Linked DNA regions of Homo sapiens: all the other regions are linked to region 1. The links are contacts of gene promoters, found by promoter capture Hi-C in blood cells and fetal thymus (Javierre and others, 2016). All regions are on one chromosome and are shown on one strand. The core of a region is centred on a gene start or on the middle of the fragment in contact, and the rest is flanking DNA. Distances in the headings are between cores, read along the strand shown. Region 1 holds the start of ANAPC2 (anaphase promoting complex subunit 2). Region 2 overlaps RABL6 (RAB, member RAS oncogene family like 6). Region 3 holds the start of TRAF2 (TNF receptor associated factor 2). Region 4 overlaps LOC107987143 (a long non-coding RNA gene). Region 5 holds the start of LCN6 (lipocalin 6).

Evidence for each region. The method cuts DNA at HindIII sites, captures the fragments that hold promoters and counts their contacts. A CHiCAGO score of 5 or more calls a contact.
Region 2: a contact is called between a fragment that was not itself captured here and the fragment with the promoter of ANAPC2 in region 1, in 9 of 17 cell types (naive CD8 T cells, fetal thymus, naive CD4 T cells and 6 more). The highest score is 8.7, in naive CD8 T cells.
Region 3: a contact is called between a fragment that was not itself captured here and the fragment with the promoter of ANAPC2 in region 1, in 2 of 17 cell types (naive CD8 T cells and erythroblasts). The highest score is 5.5, in naive CD8 T cells.
Region 4: a fragment that was not itself captured here is called in contact with the fragment with the promoter of ANAPC2 in region 1 in 5 of 17 cell types (endothelial precursors, naive B cells, activated CD4 T cells and 2 more); the score reaches 7.2 in endothelial precursors.
Region 5: the fragment with the promoter of LCN6 here is called in contact with the fragment with the promoter of ANAPC2 in region 1 in 4 of 17 cell types (naive B cells, total B cells, M1 macrophages and 1 more); the score reaches 7.2 in naive B cells.

The regions. Positions count from the first base shown.
Region 1 is chr9:137,187,064-137,190,447 of GRCh38, reverse strand. ANAPC2 (anaphase promoting complex subunit 2) reads left to right here and starts at 1,888. Exons shown (of 13, transcript NM_013366.4): 1 at 1,888-2,032; 2 at 2,345-2,967. The coding sequence starts at 1,916. SSNA1 (SS nuclear autoantigen 1) reads right to left here and starts at 1,772. Exons shown (of 3, transcript NM_003731.3): 1 at 1,670-1,772; 2 at 1,183-1,382; 3 at 82-641. The coding sequence starts at 1,721. The coding sequence ends at 534. RefSeq lists a silencer at 1,381-1,730 and an enhancer at 1,761-1,980. The HindIII fragment of the contact is 11,278 bases long and covers 1-3,342 here.
Region 2 is chr9:136,809,053-136,812,381 of GRCh38, reverse strand. The region is part of intron 1 of RABL6 (RAB, member RAS oncogene family like 6); the gene reads right to left. It also overlaps the pseudogene LOC100422233. Among named protein-coding and RNA genes, the nearest start is that of CCDC183-AS1, 1.9 kb to the right of the region's middle. The HindIII fragment of the contact is 3,825 bases long and covers 1-3,315 here.
Region 3 is chr9:136,883,079-136,886,822 of GRCh38, reverse strand. It overlaps TRAF2 (TNF receptor associated factor 2), which reads right to left and starts at 307. Exons shown (of 11, transcript NM_021138.4): 1 at 282-307. It overlaps MIR4479 (microRNA 4479), which reads right to left and starts at 90; the gene lies at 20-90. It overlaps LOC105376326 (a long non-coding RNA gene), which reads left to right and starts at 569. Exons shown (of 3, transcript XR_930448.2): 1 at 569-725; 2 at 1,473-1,530; 3 at 1,689-2,043. RefSeq lists an enhancer at 1-346 and silencers at 1-532, 753-882. The HindIII fragment of the contact is 4,476 bases long and covers 1-3,488 here.
Region 4 is chr9:136,765,995-136,769,493 of GRCh38, reverse strand. It overlaps LOC107987143 (a long non-coding RNA gene), which reads left to right. Exons shown (of 3, transcript XR_001746981.2): 2 at 1,345-1,733; 3 at 1,820-3,151. Among named protein-coding and RNA genes, the nearest start is that of LCN15, 3.2 kb to the right of the region's middle. RefSeq lists enhancers at 3,221-3,270, 3,281-3,330. The HindIII fragment of the contact is 474 bases long and covers 1,192-1,665 here.
Region 5 is chr9:136,746,422-136,749,945 of GRCh38, reverse strand. It overlaps LCN6 (lipocalin 6), which reads left to right and starts at 1,421. Exons shown (of 7, transcript NM_198946.3): 1 at 1,421-1,552; 2 at 2,383-2,522. The coding sequence starts at 1,463. It overlaps LOC100128593 (a long non-coding RNA gene), which reads right to left. Exons shown (of 3, transcript NR_033913.1): 2 at 1,374-2,868; 3 at 35-1,200. It overlaps MIR6722 (microRNA 6722), which reads left to right and starts at 2,976; the gene lies at 2,976-3,053. The HindIII fragment of the contact is 9,973 bases long and covers 1-3,524 here.

The DNA.
Region 1 (3,384 bases), core at 639-3,138:
GGGGAGCCTCAGGCTCTGGCTCTGCAGGTGTCTGGCAGCCCCATGCTGTTGATACGGGCAAGCAGCAGGCTGGCACGGATCTTTACAAAGATAATCTTTATTCATAATCACAGGCCACAGGGGTGAGACCTGAGGTTTGGGTTCTGTGGTGAAGGAGAACCCCTGTCCTCCTGTCCCTTGCCCTGGGCCTCTGCTGGCTGAGGAGGGACAAGGTGAGGGGGCCCCCATGGTGCTCAGACAACCAGAGCCTCCCTGGCAGGGCAGGAGTGTGGGTGCCACAGAGACAAGCCCCTTGCAGAGCTGACCTGGAGCCCACCATCCCCATAGCCTGTGTGAGCATGAAGCGAGGACCCCCGGGTGGGCTGTGCCCTGGGCTTGTCACTGATGCCAGTGGAGGCTGGCACCTGCCCCTCTCGGCACCTGAGACAGTGAGGGAAGGTAGCTGCTGCCGTGAAGAACAAAGATGCTCTGAGCACACACTTGCTGGGGCTGAGCTGAGGGGCACACGGAGGCAGGCCCTGCCCGTGGTCTGGTCAGCTGTCCCTGCCGCCGCTACTTTTCTGGTCTGGGGCTGTAGCCTTGGTCAGGTTCCCAGCTTCCCTCTTGAGAACGCTGAGCAAAGTCTGGGAGCTCTCCAGGATCTGGGGCCAGAGAAGTGAGAAGGTTGTTAATGTTCACCTGTTGGTAAGGTCCTAAGCCCCAGCTGTCCTCACACTCAGGTGCTGGGACCTGGCTGGGGGTGCTGTAGCCAAGGGATCCTGTGTGGGGGAAGGCGGAAGCCCAAGGGGACTGGCAGACGGGGTGGCAGGGCCCTCTTCCCTCCGGAATCTGACCCAAAACACTTCCTCTCCACCCTCAAAGCCAGGCTGGGTTAGCACTGGCCCGTGCTGGGTGCTCTGCCCAAGACCTGGCTCTTCACACTGAGCAGAAATAACCACATGGCTAGCGAGAACCGGATAAAGACCAGGACCCAGGATGCCCCAGGCCCCACAGACAGCCCCACAGTCACTCCCACAGCAGCCTGGGTTCCTCAATGGGCCTGGCCACGCTGCCCCTGCCCGAAATGCCAGCGAGGCACAGACTGCCCACAGCCGGGAGCCCCAGCCGGTCCTGACGCCTTGCCGTGGCAACACCCCTGCCGTGCCTATCCCCTGATGCTCGGCCTGGCCTCCCGAGCTCCACCTTGAGGTAGGCGGCCTCCGTCTCCGCGATGGTCCGGTCGAACTCGTTGCGAGAGGCAATCTTGCGTGCCAGGTTCTCGTTGACGCGGGCCAGCTTCTCTGTCAGCTGCCTCACCTCATTCTGCAGCCGCTGCTTCTCGTCCTCCTCCTCCTGGATCTGCCGGCACAGCTCCTCCCGCTTCTGGCACAGCTCCTCTATGCCTGGGGGCCGGGAGGGGCGGCGCTGTGGGCCCAGGGCAGGAGCGCGGCGGCGGAGGGCGGGCCTCCTTCCACCCGAGGAAGCCAGAGTCAGGCACCACCCCCGAGCGCCCGGCGCGGGGCCTGCGAGCCAGCGAGGGCTCGGGCCACGGACACCCGGCCTCCGGCACGGAGGGCTCTGCTCAGCCGCGCGATGCCCGCAGCGAGGCGGGTCCAGGGGCACCCCGCTGCGAGCCGGGAACCCGGCCCTGCGGCCCTCCCGACCTCCCCGTCCCGGCTGCGCCGCTCACACTTGACCAGCTCGTTGTTGTAGTTCTGCAGCGCCGCGCCCTGCTGGGTCATGGTCAACGCCGCCCGGGGCCCCACCACCCCAACCGCCGCGGAAGCAGCGCTGTCCGCGCCTGCGCACGACTCCCCCACGGCGCGCCGAACTAGCGCGTCATCGCTGAGCGCCTTGTGCGCGTCATGGCTGCGCGTGCAGACGTGCGTCATCGCCGCGCGCCGCGCCGAGCGAATCTCGGAGTCGGTGGGTGCAGATGGCGGCGGCAGTTGTGGTGGCGGAGGGGGACAGCGACTCCCGGCCCGGACAGGAGTTGTTAGTGGCCTGGAACACCGTGAGCACCGGCCTGGTGCCGCCGGCTGCGCTGGGGCTGGTGAGGCCTGGGAAGAGAGGGGCGGCCCCGCGCGGAGTTTCCGGGACCGTACGCGCTTTGGGGCCGCTACCCTCGGGTTCATACGGCTCTGTCCATCATCCGCCTCTGTCCTGTCCTGCCATTTTCCACCACCTTTCCGTTTCGTTTCGTTCAGCTCCGCTGACAGCCCTTCCATAGCTTCGGCCCAACGTCCGGGCAGCACGGACAGGGGGCAGCGGAGTTTTTGCAGCCTCCCCCTCAGCTTCTTCCCTTCCCCGCCTCTCCCCACCTCTATGTTGTGTTCCCCTCGCCTCACGGTTTTCTGCACCCCAGGTGTCTTCCCGGACCAGCGGTGCAGTCCCGCCAAAGGAAGAGGAGCTCCGGGCGGCGGTGGAGGTTCTGAGGGGCCACGGGCTACACTCGGTCCTGGAGGAGTGGTTCGTGGAGGTGCTGCAGAACGATCTGCAGGCCAACATCTCCCCTGAGTTCTGGAATGCCATCTCCCAATGCGAGAACTCTGCGGATGAGCCCCAGTGCCTTTTGCTACTCCTTGACGCTTTTGGCCTGCTGGAGAGCCGCCTGGATCCCTACCTGCGTAGCCTAGAGCTGCTGGAGAAATGGACTCGCCTGGGCTTGCTGATGGGCACTGGTGCTCAGGGGCTGCGAGAAGAAGTCCACACTATGTTGCGCGGAGTCTTGTTCTTTAGCACCCCCAGAACCTTCCAAGAGATGATCCAGCGTCTGTATGGGTGCTTCTTGAGAGTCTATATGCAGAGTAAGAGGAAGGGGGAAGGGGGCACAGACCCGGAACTGGAAGGGGAGCTGGACAGCCGGTATGCCCGTCGCCGGTACTACCGGCTCCTGCAGAGCCCGCTGTGTGCAGGGTGCAGCAGTGACAAGCAACAGTGCTGGTGTCGCCAGGCTCTGGAGCAGTTCCATCAGCTCAGCCAGGTCTTGTGAGTAGTCTGTCCCGATGGCCATGCCCTTGCTCCTTCTGGTTCCCCGCTGCTCCCCTGGGTCCAGCTGGCCTCAGCAGAAAGCTGGTGAGCCGTCCTGATAACCAGGAACATGACAGAGAGAGAGTCCCAGGGATTCCTGTGCAGCGTGTCCTGGACACAGGTGTCTCTCTTCTGTCACTCACCTTCAGTCCCACAGATTCATGCCTTGACCCTGGTAAGGCCCTATGTGGCTTGTGTCTGCAGCAGCAAATTTCTTAGCAACTCCAAACTTCCTGGACTCTGCAGAATTCCACTGTGCCTTTTGTCGATCCTGGGGAGGAATGATTCTCACCCTCGTCGACATTCCTTGCCCTGTAATTGTGAACAGAAGCTTGCTGCTGCTTCTCTCCAGGAAGATCAGGTCACTGTGAGGGC
Region 2 (3,329 bases), core at 154-2,653, 380 kb after region 1:
CATCATGTTGGCCAGGTTGGTCTTGAACTCCTGACCTCATGTAATCCGCCCACCTCAGCCTCCCAAAGTGCTGGGATTACAGGTGTGAGCCACCGTGCCCGGCCTGCTAAGTCCCATTTCTAAATTCGCACCAGTGTCTACTCAGAGAGGACTCTGGTTGTCCGAGCTCCTGGGCCAGGCCAGTATCAGAGCTGCACAATAATGCTCACTCAGGAGCAACTCCACAGAAAAATTCTGCACCAAATACAACTGATATTTTGTGTCCAGTCACAGTAGAAAGGGACAGACCAACTCAGGCAACAATCTTTCTTCCAAATAATTTCAAATAATTTTCCTAATAATTTTATATGCAAATAATTTCAAAATTGTGTAAACCAAAATTAAAATCCCAAGGCCTGCCAACCATCTGAATGGACTTCCTCTTCTAGGCCAGGGCCATCCAAATTTCATCTGAAAGACTGGTTCAGGCCATTATGGGAAGAGGGGAGTCAGACAGGCCTCATTGTGGCCTCCTCCCTTCTGGAATTCAGGAAAAGCTCACCAGCATTTAACATCAACACTGACTTTAAGTCTGATAAGAAACATAATCTGGCCAGGCGCGGTGGCTCACGCCTGTAATCCCAGCACTTTGGGAGGCCAAGGGGTTCGGACTGCTTGAGTAGAGGGGTCTGAGCCCAGCTGGGCAACGTGGTGAAACCCTGTCTCTCTAAAAAATACCAAAATTAGCTGGGTGTGGTGGTGCAATTGTTTTTTTTTTTTTTTTTGAGACAGGGTCTGACTCTGTCACCCAGGCTGGAGTGCAGTGGCACAATCTCAGCTCACTGTAACTTCTGCCACTTGGGCTCAAGCGATTCTCCCGCCTCAGCCTCCTGAGTAGCTGGGATTACAGGCACCCACCATCACACCCGGTTAATTTTTATAGTTTTAGTAGAGACGGGGTTTCGACATGTTGGCCAGGCTGGTCTTGAACTCCTGGCCTCAGGTTGTCCGCCTGCCTCGGCCTCTCAATGTGCTGAGATTACAGGCGTGAGCCACCGCGCCCGGCAAAAAAACACAATTTTTTTAAACTACCTCCGACCTGGAAGCCCCCACTTCAAGTTGTCCCGCCTTTGTGGACCAAATCAACATATATCTTAAATGTATTTGATTACTGTCTCATGTCTAAAATGTATAAAACCAAGCTGTGCCCTCCACCTTGGGCACATGTCCTCAGGGTCACCTGAGGGCTATGTCACGAGCCATGGTCACTCATATTCAGCTCAAAAATAAATCTCTTCAAATATTTGACAGAGTTTGACTTTTTCATCCATTATGGTCCAATGTCTCATTCGAGTTTTTATTCTAAAACCAGTGGGTGTCCCACACGTCTACCGGGACCACTAGCAACTCCGAGCAAATGCAGGGCCCAGGAGGAGAGCCCAGACTCCTGGAAACCCGCAGCAGTTCCCAGAAACTCTCACCCCCAAAACCCTCGACTCTGTCTTGATCACATTGCTGGTCTGTTACGCTCTGTAAAATATTTGAGAAAATAAATACCAGAAAGCCGGGCATGGTGGCTTACGCCTGTAATCCCAGCACTTTGAGAGGCTGAGGCGGGCAGATCACGAGGTCAGGAGATTGAGACCATCCTGGCTAACACGGTGAAATCCTGCCTCTACTAAAAATACAAAAAATTAGCCGGGCGTGGTGGCCGGTGCCTATAGTCCCAGCTACTCGGGAGGCTGAAGCAGGAGAATGGTGTGAACCCGGGAGGAGGAGCTTGCAGTGAGCTGAGATCACGCCACTGCACTCCAGCCTGGGAGACACAGCAAAACGCAAAACTCTGTCTCAAAAAAGAAAAGAAAAGAAAAGAAATACTAGAAACTTTCTATTCTAACACAGAAACTCAAAAGTTTTAAAATTGCATGTTATTCAGCTATAAAGATAACATCTTTCTAAAATGTAATTTAGGTACAAATTCAAATTTCTCTCTGTCTCACCACCTTTCATTCAGTTCTAGGAGATCATAACCTGTTCTCCAAGTACTGGAGACTGGCTTTTCTCCTCTGGAAGGACCCCATTGCCCTTTTTAGTCACACTCGCCCAGGACCACACAGGGGTGGTCCTGGTGCATGAGGTGGACCTTGCCCAGGACCCTCGGGGAGCCTTTTCAGAAGGTGAACAGTTTCCAGGTCCAGGCCTGATTTCCCAGGGACTAATACTGAGCTTAGCCAATACTGTAAGCAATAAAATTAAATAAAGGATCCAAACGCAGAGTCTAAAAACTGGCGTAAACTCAGTTATTTTGACTCAATATTCTCTTCTCCGAATGCCAGCTATGTATAAAGTTTCAATTATAACACATTTAAAATCAGCTTTTATTTTTATTCAAAATGCACCACTTTATTTTCCTTACCAGACAGCCAAGCATTAAGCACGTTCCAGTCACGTGACTTCTTCAGCGAGCCCCCAGGCTTCCACTCCACGGGAGTCTGGGAGCTCCTGGACAGAGGAGTCCTGAGATTTCAAATAGTCAAGCCTTCTCCCCAGCCACAAGTTCCTTTGATGCTTGGGTTACTGAACACAAACGCAATGGATTGTTTGTCTTCAACATAATCCGTTTCTGTTCCTAAACGTGTTGGCTGCGCTTTCTTTCTGATGAGCACGCTGACTCTAATTTGAACTTCATCAAAATCTTCTTTGTCGTCGTATGTTCTAGAGTATAAGAAAAGCCAATACGGCCCTTGGTTCGGACATCAACTTTCTTTTAAATTTTTTTTTCGTATTTTTAGTAGAGACGGTGTTTCACTATGTTGGCCAGGCTGGTCTCGAATTCCTGACCTCGTGATCTGCCCGCCTTGGCCTCCCAAAGTGCTGGGATTACAGGCATGAGCCACCGTGCCCGGCCCGGACACCAACTTTCATACCTAGATGCTCAGACTTATCTTTAAGAAGTTGTTTTATCTTGCTTACTGCTAAAGGTGTCTGGGTGAGGGTGGCCCGAGTGGTCTGCAGCTTCCTCTTGCTCACAGGCCGGGGGACTAAGGAAGGCGACATCTTCACTGTCCTCCTGGACTAGCTCCAGCCCCAGGAACTACGGCCTCTCTCCGTGCACACGGCACGCGAATTCATGAACTTGCTTTTAAACCTGCACAAGAGTCTTTCTGATCATTAGTTCTTAAAATTCTACATTACCATGGAAATATCACGGAGGCTCTAAGGCTCCCCTTAAAGTGACCAAAAAACTGGATAGGCGTAGCGTCCTAAAACCTCATAGAAACATACGGAAATGGCTAAGAGGGAAGCAATGTCAAAACAGGGAACCACATAAAAGCTTTCAAAAACTACTG
Region 3 (3,744 bases), core at 1-2,500, 300 kb after region 1:
AAAACCCCGGACCGTGCCCTGGCGCTGCTCCGAGCACGGCCGCGCGCGTTCCCGAACTTTCCCGCGCCAGCCACGCTCGGACTTGGTTTCCGGCCCAGCGGCTCAGAGAAATCCCCTCGGGCTGGCCCCGCCCCCGCCCCGCGGCCTCTCCCGCCCCCGCTCCCGCTCCGGCCCGGAGTCTCCCTGAGAGGTGCCCGCGCCTGCGCCCGACCCCGCGCCCGACCCCGCACCCGACCCCGCGCCCGCGCCCGACCCCGCACCCGACCCCGCGCTCGCCTCACCCAACGGTCGCAGCGCGCCCGGAACTAAGGGCCCGCCCAGCTACCGCCCCCAACGCCGCCGCCGCCGCCGCCGCTCCGCCGCGTGCGCCTGACGGACGGACATGGGAGCCAACCAGCCAGCCCTCAGGAAGCTGTAGCGAGAGCCATTGGCCAGATACGCCCCGCTCCGAGCGCGCCTGACGGACTGACGCCGGAGCCAACCAGCGAGCCCGCAGGAGCCGCAGCGTGCGCCGATTGGTCGGCGCTGAGACGGCGTGGGTACCTAAGTCGCCCTCTGCTTTTTCCTCAAAGAGCGCGCCGGGGCGTTGGTGCGGGGAGCTGGTGAGGTGCTGCGCTGTGGGGTCCGCGCTAATTGGGTCCCTTCCCCAGGTGCGGCGAGACAGCGAGGCCCTTGCTTCCCCTCCCGTGGCCCCGGGGCGGAGACCCCTGCCGCACACCCGAGAGGTGAGCCGGGAGCCCAAGCCGGGCGACACCGGTTCCCACGAGGCGCGCGTCGCGCGCGGGACGCGGGGCCCTGGCGGGGCGGCCGCACCTACCCGACACCTGCGGGTCCCTCCGCCTCCCCCGGTGCCGGGCGCAGAGCGGCGCCTCAATTTGGGTAACATTTATGAGAAACAGGACTAAAAGAATACTGCACACTTAAGTAAGGTATTAAGGCTATGGGGTCTCCTTTTGGGGTGAGGTAATGCTCTGCAACCGGACAGTGGTGACGGCCGCCCGACATGGCCGGTGTGCTAATCTACTGGGTTGTGCACTTTATTTATTTTTTTTTTTGAGACGGAGGCTCACTCTGTCGCCCAGGCTGGAGTTCAGTGGCGCGATCTCGACTCACTGCAACCTCCGCCTCCCGGGTTCAAGCGATTCTCCTGCCTCAGCCTCCCGAGTAGCTGGGACTACAGGCGCCCGCCATCACGCCCGGCTAATGTTTGTATTTTTGATAGAGACGAGGTTTCACCATGTTGGCCAGGCTGGTCTTGAACTCCCGACCTCAAGTGAAAACACAACCTATGGCCTCCAGACACTCAAATGAAAACAGTGGCCTTGGCGGCCAAAACAGGGGCTGCCCTAGGAGTCCTGTGGGCTGCATGGGGGAGGCGGCACTGTCATCTGCCCAGGAGAACGGGAGCTGCAGCAGGTTCTCTCTGGCGGTGCACGGGCTAGCACTGGACACACCACCCCCTCTCCATCCAGCCTTTGGTGAAATGGAGACCTTTCACCCCGCTTTGCAGAGAAGGAAACGTTCACGGAGGTAAGTCTCCTCCAAGCATTCAGACCCTGAGACCACGGGACTCCTCAAGGATGGAATACACTGCAAAACAGGGCAGGCTTTGAAGTTGCATAATTTACACAGGCCACGCTGTCCCCAGGCGCCAATGCCACATTTCATATATGTTACTTGGTTTGCAGTTGGAATTCCCCTCCGCCCCAAACCCACATTCCTGGGACAGCAAGGCCTTGAGATGGAACTCAGGAAGCCATCGGATTCCATCAACGTCATCACCCCTGAGTTTGCTGCAAGCAGCCATGGAAACGTCCCAAGTCCGCACCTGCAGGCTCAGTGAGGTTGCTCAAGCCCAGGAACTAACTGAGCTCTCAAACGTAAGAAGGCGTCTCCTCCTGGCTGCACCTGGGAGGCTCAAAGCTGTCCTGAGTCTGCAGCAGCCAGCTCGGGATGAGAAAGGGTTCACGTGGCAGTTCATGCCTATAATCCCAGCACTTTGGGAGGCTGAGGCAGGAGGACCGCTTGAGCCCATGAGTTCGAAACCAGCATGGGCAGCATGGGGGAACCCCATCTCTACCAAAAAAAGGAAAAAAAATTTAGCTGGGTGTGGTGCTGCACACCTGTAGTCCCAACTGCTTGGAAGGCTGAGGCAGGAAGATGACTGAAGCTCAGGAGGTGGAGGTTGCAGTGAGCTGTGGTTGCACCACTGCACTCCAGGCTGCGCTATAGAGTGAGACCCTGTCTCTTTTTTTTCTTTTTTGAGACGGTGTCTTGCTCTGTCACCCAGGCTGGAGTGCAGTGGTGCGATCTCGGCTCACTGCAACCTCTGCCTCCCGGGTTCAAGAAATTCTCCTGCCTAAGCCTCCGGAGTAGCTGGGACTACCGGCGCACACCGCTACGCCCGGCTAATTTTTTTTGTATTTTAGTAGAGACGGGGTTTCACCGTGTTGCTCAGGCTGGTCTCGAACTCCTGAGCTCAGGCAATTGCCTGCCTCGGCCTCCCAAAGTGCTAGGATTACAGGCATGAGCCACTGCGCCTGGCTGACCCTGTCTCTTTTAAAAAAGAAAAAACAGCCAGGCACGGCGGCTCATGCCTGTAATCCCAGCACTTTGGGAGGCCTAGGCGAGCAGATCACCTGAGGTCAGGAGTTTGAGACCAGACTGGCCAACATGGTGAAACCTCGTCTCTACTAAAAAAATACAAAAGGCCGGGCGCGGTGGCTCACCCCAGCACTTTGGGAGGCCGAGGTGGGCAGATCATGAGGTCAAGAGATCGAGACCATTCTGGCCAACATGTTGAAACCCTGTCTCTACTAAAAGTACAAAAATTAGCTGGGCATGGTGGTACGCGCCTGTACTCACAGCTACTCAGGAGACTGAGTAGGCAGGAGATTCACTTGAACCCGGGAGGCGTAGGTTGCAGTGAGCCGAGATTGCGCCACTACACTCCAGCCTGGCGACAGAGCAAGAATCCATCTCAAAAAAAAAAAAAAATACACAAAAGGCCCGGCACAGTGGCTCATGTTTGTAATCCCAGCACTTTGGGAGGCTGAGGTGGGTGGATCACCTGAGGTCAGGGGTTCAAGACCAGCCTGGCCAACGTGGTGAAACCCTGTCTCTACTAAAAATACAAAAATCAGCTGGGCATGGTGGCAGATGCCTGTAATCCCAATTACTCAGGAGGCTGAGGCAGGAAAATCACTTGAACCTGGGAGGCAGAGGTTGCAGTGAGCCGAGATTACGCCACTGCATTCCACCCTGGGTGACAGAGCAAGACTCCATCTCAAAGAAAAAAGAAGGGGTTCACCTGTTTTAGGACACTCTACTTCCTTCAGGGTAACGGGAAAGTCATTCTAACAGCTTTCAGACAGTGGCCTCCAACATGGGGTGACACACCTCACTGGTCCTGGATGATGACAGTGTTGAAGGGCTGAGTCTGAGACCACCTCAGCCCCACCCCAAGTCCAGAAAAGGTTTCCCAAGCTTGGCAAATGCCCACAGCCCTCGAGAGCAGGTAGTGACCAGGATGACTGCCCCGTGCCGCCCAGTCTCAGAGTACTTGCCCCAGTGCTGCTCTCATGAAAATGCCTTTGTTTAATTTATACTGCTCTGTTTCCAGAAGATTGGCACAGACACGTAAAAAAAAAACTGGCTGGGCATGGTGGCTCACGCCTGTAATCCCGGCACTTTGGGAGGCTGAGGTGGGCAGATCACCTGAGATCAGGAGTTCAAGACCAGCCT
Region 4 (3,499 bases), core at 179-2,678, 420 kb after region 1:
ATGGGGGGTGTCGGGGTGTCGGGGGGGGCAGTGCATGGGGGGTGGCGGGGTGGCGGGGGGGAAGTGCATGGGGGGGTGGCGGGGTGGCGGGGGGGGCAGTGCATGGGGTGGTGGCGGGGGGCAGTGCATGGAGGGGTGGCGGGGTGGCGGGGGGGCAGTGCATGGGGGGGTGGCGGGGGGCAGTGCATGGAGGGGTGGCGGGGTGGCGGGGGGGCAGTGCATGGAGGGGTGGCGGGGTGGCGGGGGGGGCAGTGCATGGGGGGGTGGCGGGGGGGGCAGTGCATGGGGGGGTGGCAGGGTGGCGGGGGGGGGCCGTGCATGGGGGTTGGGGTGGGAGGGGACTGAGCTCTGAGAAAGGACCCCAGTTCACTATGTCAAAAACGAAAAAAAGGCAAGGCGCAGTGGCTCACGCCTGTAATCCCGGCACTTTGGGAGGCCAAGGAGGGCAGATCACCTGAGGTCAGGAGTTTGAGACCAGCCTGACCAATATGGTGAAATCCTGTCTCTACTAAAAATGCAAAAAAAATTAGACGGGCATGGTGGCTACTGTTATCCCAGCTACATGGGAGGCTGAGGCAGGAGAATCGCTTGAACCCGGGAGGTGGAGATTGCAGTGAGCTGAGATTGCACCACTGCACTCCAGCCTGAGTGACAGAGTGAGACCCCGTCTTAAAAAACAAAACAAGGCCAGGCACGGTGGCTCATGCCTGTAATCCCAGCACTCTGGGAGGCTGAGGCAGGTGGATCACAAGGTCAGGAGATCGAGACCACCCTGGCTAACATGGTGAAACCCTGTCTCTACTAAAAATACAAAGAATTATCCGAGCATGGTGGTGGACGCCTGTGGTCCCAGCTACTCCGGAGGCTGAGGTGGGAGAATGGCGTGAACCCAGGAGGTGGAGCTTGCAGTGAGCCGAGATTGCGCCACTGCAGTCCGCAGTCCCGCCTGGGGCGACAGAGCGAGACTCCGTCTCAAAAAAAAAAAAAAAAAAAAAAAAAAAAAAGAAAAAAAAGAAAAAAGAAAAAAAGAAAAGAAAACGAAGAAAAACCACAAATAAATAAAAGTTGAGGTATGATGTATGCACAGCTGCATTCGCCCCTTTGAGGGCACAGTTGTGTGAGTTTAGACAAATGCAAATGTTCATGGAACCACTGCAAGTGCGACACAGCAGCTCTGGTGCCCACAAAGCTTCCTCGAGGTCCCTTGCGGTCAATCACTGCCCGCACCTCAGCCCTCAGAGCCACTGGGAAGCCCCCTGCCCTGTGGGCTCACCTGTCCTAGAACGTCGTATAAAAGGAGTCGCAGATCGCAGCCTTTTCCACCTGGCTTCTGTCCCTCTGCAGGGTGCACCTGGGATTCAGCCACCTTCGTTCCTTTTACTGCTGAGTGTCCATCACGTGCTGCTCATGCAGAAGTGCTCAAGTTCGCTGTAAACGTAGTTTTCATTTCTCCCGGGTGGAGACCTCCATAAGTAGGTAGGTTGGTGGAATGTTTCACTGCATGAGAGTCTGCCAGGAAGTTTTGCAGTGTGGTCCCGTCTTGTTCTTCCCGCAGAGGGTGATAGCTCTGCTGACTCCCAGCCCTCACAGGCTCTAGGGATTGAGCCTGTTTCTGTGGAACGCCTTCCATGGTCTGCGAGGTGCACAGAGGGGTCTCAAAAAGCTTCCAGGTTGCATCTTCCCATGGACTGATGCTGAGCGTGTTCTCATCTCCCATCCGGATGTTTTCTTTGGTGGAGTATCTTTTCAGATCTCTTGCCTTTTTATTTTTATTTGTTTATATATATATTTTGAGACGGAATTTTGCTCTTTCACTTAGGTTGGAGTGCAACGGCGCGATCTTGGCTCACTGCAACCTCCCCCCACCCACCTCACTTTGGGTTCAAGCGATTCTCCTGCCTCAGCCTCCCGAGTAGCTGGGACTACAGGCGCCCGCCACCATGCCCGGCTAATTTTTGTATTTTGAGAAGAGATAGGGTTTCACCATGTTGGCCAGGCTGGTCTCGAACTCCTGACCTCAGGTGATCCACCCGCCTCGGCCTCCCAAAATGCGAGGATCACAGGCGTGAGATGCCACACCTGGCCTCTTTTTATTTTTAATGGAGTGGCTTGTTTTCTTATTACTCAGTCTTGGGAGTTCCTCATGGATGCTGGATTTCAGTCTCGTCTCAGGTGTATGCGTTTTGTAGATGTTTTCTGTAGGGACCAGCCCCACAGGGTTGGTGAGTTTCTCCCTGTGTGCTGAGATGAGAGGGCATAGAAATAAGGACACAAGAAAAAGACATAAAAGAAAAGACAGCTGGGCCTGGGGACCACTACCACCAAGACGTGGAGACCGGTAGTGGCCCCGAATGTCTGGCTGTGCTGATATTTATTGGATACAAAGCAAAAGGGACAGGGTAAAGAGTGTGAGTCATCTCCAATGATAGGTAAGGTGACGTGAGTCACGTGTCCACCGGATGGGGGGCCCTTCCCTGTTTGGCAGCCAAGGCGGAGAGAGAGAGAGAGAGACAGCTTACATCATTATTTCTGCATATCAGAGACTTTTAGTACTTTCACTAATTGACTACTGCTATCTAGAAGGCAGAGCCAGGTGTACAGGATGGAACATGAAGGCGGACTACGAGCGTGACCACTGAAGCACAGCATCACAGGGAGACGGTTAGGCCTCTGGATAACTGCGGGCAGGTCTGACTGATGTCAGGCCCTCCACAGGAGGTGGAGGAGTAGAGTCCTCTCTAAGCTCCCCCGGGGAAAGGGAGACTCCCTTTCCCTGTCTGCTAAGTAGCAGGTGTTTTCCCTTGACACTGACGCTACTGCTAGATCACGGTCCGCTTGGCAACAGGTGTCTTCCCAGACGCTGGCGTCACCACTAGACCAAGGAGCCCTCTGGTGGCCCTGTCAGGGCGTAACAGAAGGCTCGCACTCTTGTCTTCTGGTCACTTCTCACTATGTCCGCTCAGCTCCTATCTCTGTATGGCCTGGTTTTTCCTAGGTTATAATTGTAGAGCAAGGATTATTATAATATTGGAATAAAGAGTAATTGCTACAAGCTAATGATTAATAATATTCATATATAATCATGTCTATGATCTAGATCTAGTATAACTCTTGTTATTTTATATATTTTATTAAACTGGAACAGCTCGTGCCCTCGGTCTCTTGCTTCGGCATCTGGGTGGCTTGCTGACCACAGTTTTCCTGCTGTATCTAACTGCTGGCTTAGGTGAACCTGTCAGGGGCGTGGCTGGGAACTGGAACCTCCTGAAGACCAGTGGAGGCCACAAGCAGAAGCCCTCGGCTCCTTCCCTTCCCCGATGCTGGGGGCCAAGGGTCTTTCTCTGACCCTGTCCCCCTCTCACGTTACCAGTGGAGGGTGTCCAGGTTCTTGGCATTTTGAACAAAGAATTGGACAAAACACACAAACAAAGCAAGGAAAGAATGAAGCAACAAAAGCAGAAATTTATTGAAAATGAAAGCACTCTTTACAGGGTGGGAG
Region 5 (3,524 bases), core at 172-2,671, 440 kb after region 1:
CGGCTTCCTCCTTTTTGTATTTTTATTTTATTTTAGAGATGGGGTCTTGCTCCATCACCCAGGCTGGAGAGGAGTGGCACGATCACAGCTCACTGCAGCCTCAACCTCCTGGGCTCAAGCAATCCTCCTACCTCAGCTTCCTGAGTAGCTGGGACTACAGGAGCACGCCACCATGTCCAGCTAATTTTTAAACTTGCTTGTAGAGACGAAGTCTTGCTATGTCGCCCAGGCTGGTCTCAAACTCCTGGACTCAAGTGATCCTCCCGCCTCAGCCTCCTGAAGTGCTGGGATTACCGCGAGCAGCCACGGCTCCCTCCTGAAGGCTCCAGGCCTAAGTGTCCCGCTCCCTTGTTCTGTGGCTCAGCCCCTGGGCAACTCCTGCTTGCCATGGCTGTGGCTGGCACCTCCGTGGCCCCACTGCCCGGTCAGTCTTCGCAGGCCCAGCCCCCAGTAGCTGTGTGGTTTCTGCCTTCCTCCTGCACTCTGGTGGTCACAGGCCCTGCTGCGTGGGTACAGGGCAGGTGGCCAGGGCTGCAGCATAAGCTCTGTGAGTGCAGGCGGCCCTGGGCACTGGAGCCTTGTTGCATGGACGTGCTCCTTGCACCCTTGTTGATGAATGAGCGAAGGTGTGTGGGAGTGAATCCCAGAGGGTGCAGGCCACGGCACTGGGGGAGGACCCTCCCGGCTGCCTCCCAGTGGGCTTCAGGGGCTCAGATAGACCCTGCCGAGCACCTCTGTCCTCTGCTCCCGGACTGGGGCTGCAGAGAGCTCTCAAGGGGCCTTGGGAGGCACAAGCAGGCCAGGGTCCCAGGGAGGGGAGGCAGGAGGCAGCAGGGCCGGATGGTGGGCTGCAGAGGTGGAAGGAACAGGACAGTCTGTTCTGGGGGTGCTGGCTGTGGGGGACAGAGGCCAGGCCACAAAGCAGAATGGTGGGTGGGCCAGGAGGAGGTGGGAGCCTTTTTCAAAAGGCTTTCAGGGACTTTTTATATTTAATGATTGAAACAAAAGATATCCAAAACCGCAGTTCCTGAGAACCACTTGTTCTCGCCCTGGTTCCTCTCCTTGGGCTTGACCTTGGCCTCCTGCCGGGCCTGGCAGCGGACAGCAGTCTCCCTGCTTCCCAGGCTGGGCGAGGGAGAGCGTGGGTCCCCAGGAACGGGGGAGGTGGTGCGGCTGGCTTTAGGATGCCCATTCTGGAACCTTCTGGTGGAAGAAAGCAGGGGATCAGTATAGTATGGTTGATCCACACACTCCAGACCCTCTCCTGGCTGTGCAGCTGGTCTGATCTGGGCTCAGAGGCTGCCACTGCTCAGTGCTCCCCTGGGTAATTTTGCAGGAGGCCAGGAGGGTTCCTGGCAGTTAGTGCCACCCACACGGAGAAATTCAGAGCCATATAAACGGGTCTCCAGGGCCTGGAGGGACTGCACATCCTGGGCCTGCGGCGCAGTGTAGACCTGGGAGGATGGGCGGCCTGCTGCTGGCTGCTTTTCTGGCTTTGGTCTCGGTGCCCAGGGCCCAGGCCGTGTGGTTGGGAAGACTGGACCCTGAGCAGGTACAGTCCTCCTGGGGGTGGGGAGAGCTGGTCCTCGGGGGCCAGCCCCTCCTTTAAGGCCACACAGCTTCTGGGCCCCCCAGGGCTAGCCCAGACCAGCATGAGCAGTGGGGAATTAGTTGGGCCAGCCCTTGGGGAGTCCCACAGGCAGGAGCCTCAGGGCAGGAGGGGTGGATGCTGGAGGGTTGGAGGCTGGAGGGCTGGAGAATTGGAGGCTGGAGACTGGAGGTTGCAGGGCTGGAGGGTGTAGGGTTGGAGAACTGGAGGCTGGAGGGCTGGAGGCTGTAGGGCTGGAGAACTGGAGGCTGGAGGCTGCTGGGCTGGAGGCTGGAGGGCTGTAGAACTGGAGGCTGGAGGGCTGGAGGCTGGAGGGCTGCAGAACTGGAGGCTGGAGGGCTGGAGAGCTGGAGACTAGAGGCTGCAGGGCTGCAGGCTGGAGGTTGGAAGGCTGGAGGGCTGGAGCCTAGAGGCTGTAGGGCTGGAAGGCTGGAGGCTGGAGGGTTGGAGGTCTGGGGGGTTGGAAGCTGGAGGCTGGAGGGCTGGAGAACTGAAGGCTAGAGGCTGCAAGGCTGGAAGGTTGGAGGCTGGAGGGCGGGAGGGTTGGAGACTGGAGGCTGGAGGGCTGGATGGTTGGAGGGTGGAGGCTGGAGGCTGCAGGGCTGGAAGGCTGGAGGCTGGAGGGTTGGAGGCTGGAGGCTGGAGGGCTGGATGGTTGGAGGGTGGAGGCTGAGGCTGGAGGTTTGGAGGCTGGAGGCTGAGGCTGGAGGGTTGGAGGCTGGAGGCTGGAGGCTGGAGGGCTGGCGGCCCTAACGGGAGCCGCCTCAATGCAGCTTCTTGGGCCCTGGTACGTGCTTGCGGTGGCCTCCCGGGAAAAGGGCTTTGCCATGGAGAAGGACATGAAGAACGTCGTGGGGGTGGTGGTGACCCTCACTCCAGAAAACAACCTGCGGACGCTGTCCTCTCAGCACGGGTGAGTGGGCGGGTCCTGCCAGGCCTTCCCGCAGGCAGGACTGTGGCTCAGCCACATCATGTACTTTGCACATCTGCTCCCGGGCACCGCGGCCTGGGGGCTTCCCACGGCCCCTCTGCACCCCCGTCACTTTTCCCACTGGGCTCTGTGCAGAGCCACCAGCCCTCTGCCCAGCTACTCACATCTGTGTCCCTGGGGCCTCCAGGTGGCACTCCCACCTTCAATACCGCGGCGGGCACTGCTCTGACTATGCTCCTTCATGCATCCCTGTCCTGGGTCATCTGGGCTGCAGGCTGTGGTCAGAGCTGGGGAAGCCTGTCCTCTCAGCAGGCCTTTTTCGGGAATTCTGTTTAAAGGAGGATAATGCATTCGGACCTAAGAACCACTGGTTCTTTCATAACATAAATCCCCAAACAATATGGTCATGGACGCTGTTGGCCAGACTGGCCTTGTGGCCTCAGGCAGGCGCACCCGACCACATGCATGGCTGGTGGCGGCGTGCAGGGGTCGGGTGGGCCAGGCTGTGGGGCGGCCGTGCTACACAGGGGACACCTACAGGGCAGCCGGGCTGTGGGGGTAGCCGTGCTGGGGCAGGAGTCGGTGCCCGCCTCCCTTCACAGAAGAGTGGCCTGCTGGGTGGCGTGGTGGGTGTCTACCCCCTGGCAGGCTGGCGACAGAGCCCAGGCCTGAACCACTGAGCCAGGTACGGGGCCCAGAGAGAAGAACCTGCCCTCCTCACCAGCGTGCCTTCCCCCTGCACCTGCGCCTGCAGGGTATGGGCAGGGGCCCCACTGCACCCCCCGGGCCAGGCCTGGCCTCAGGGCGAGCTGGGACCAAGGGGCTCCAGGCTGAGGTGGCAGCTCCCACGTGGCTTTCCTAGTTCTTCTTGCTGTTCCTCCCGCATGGACTCAGCCTCAGTTTCCTTCCTTGGCAAACACCATTGCACCTTTGCTGGGTTTTGCTCACTCTGGGGACTGACCACTTAGGGAGCGCCGGCCCCTT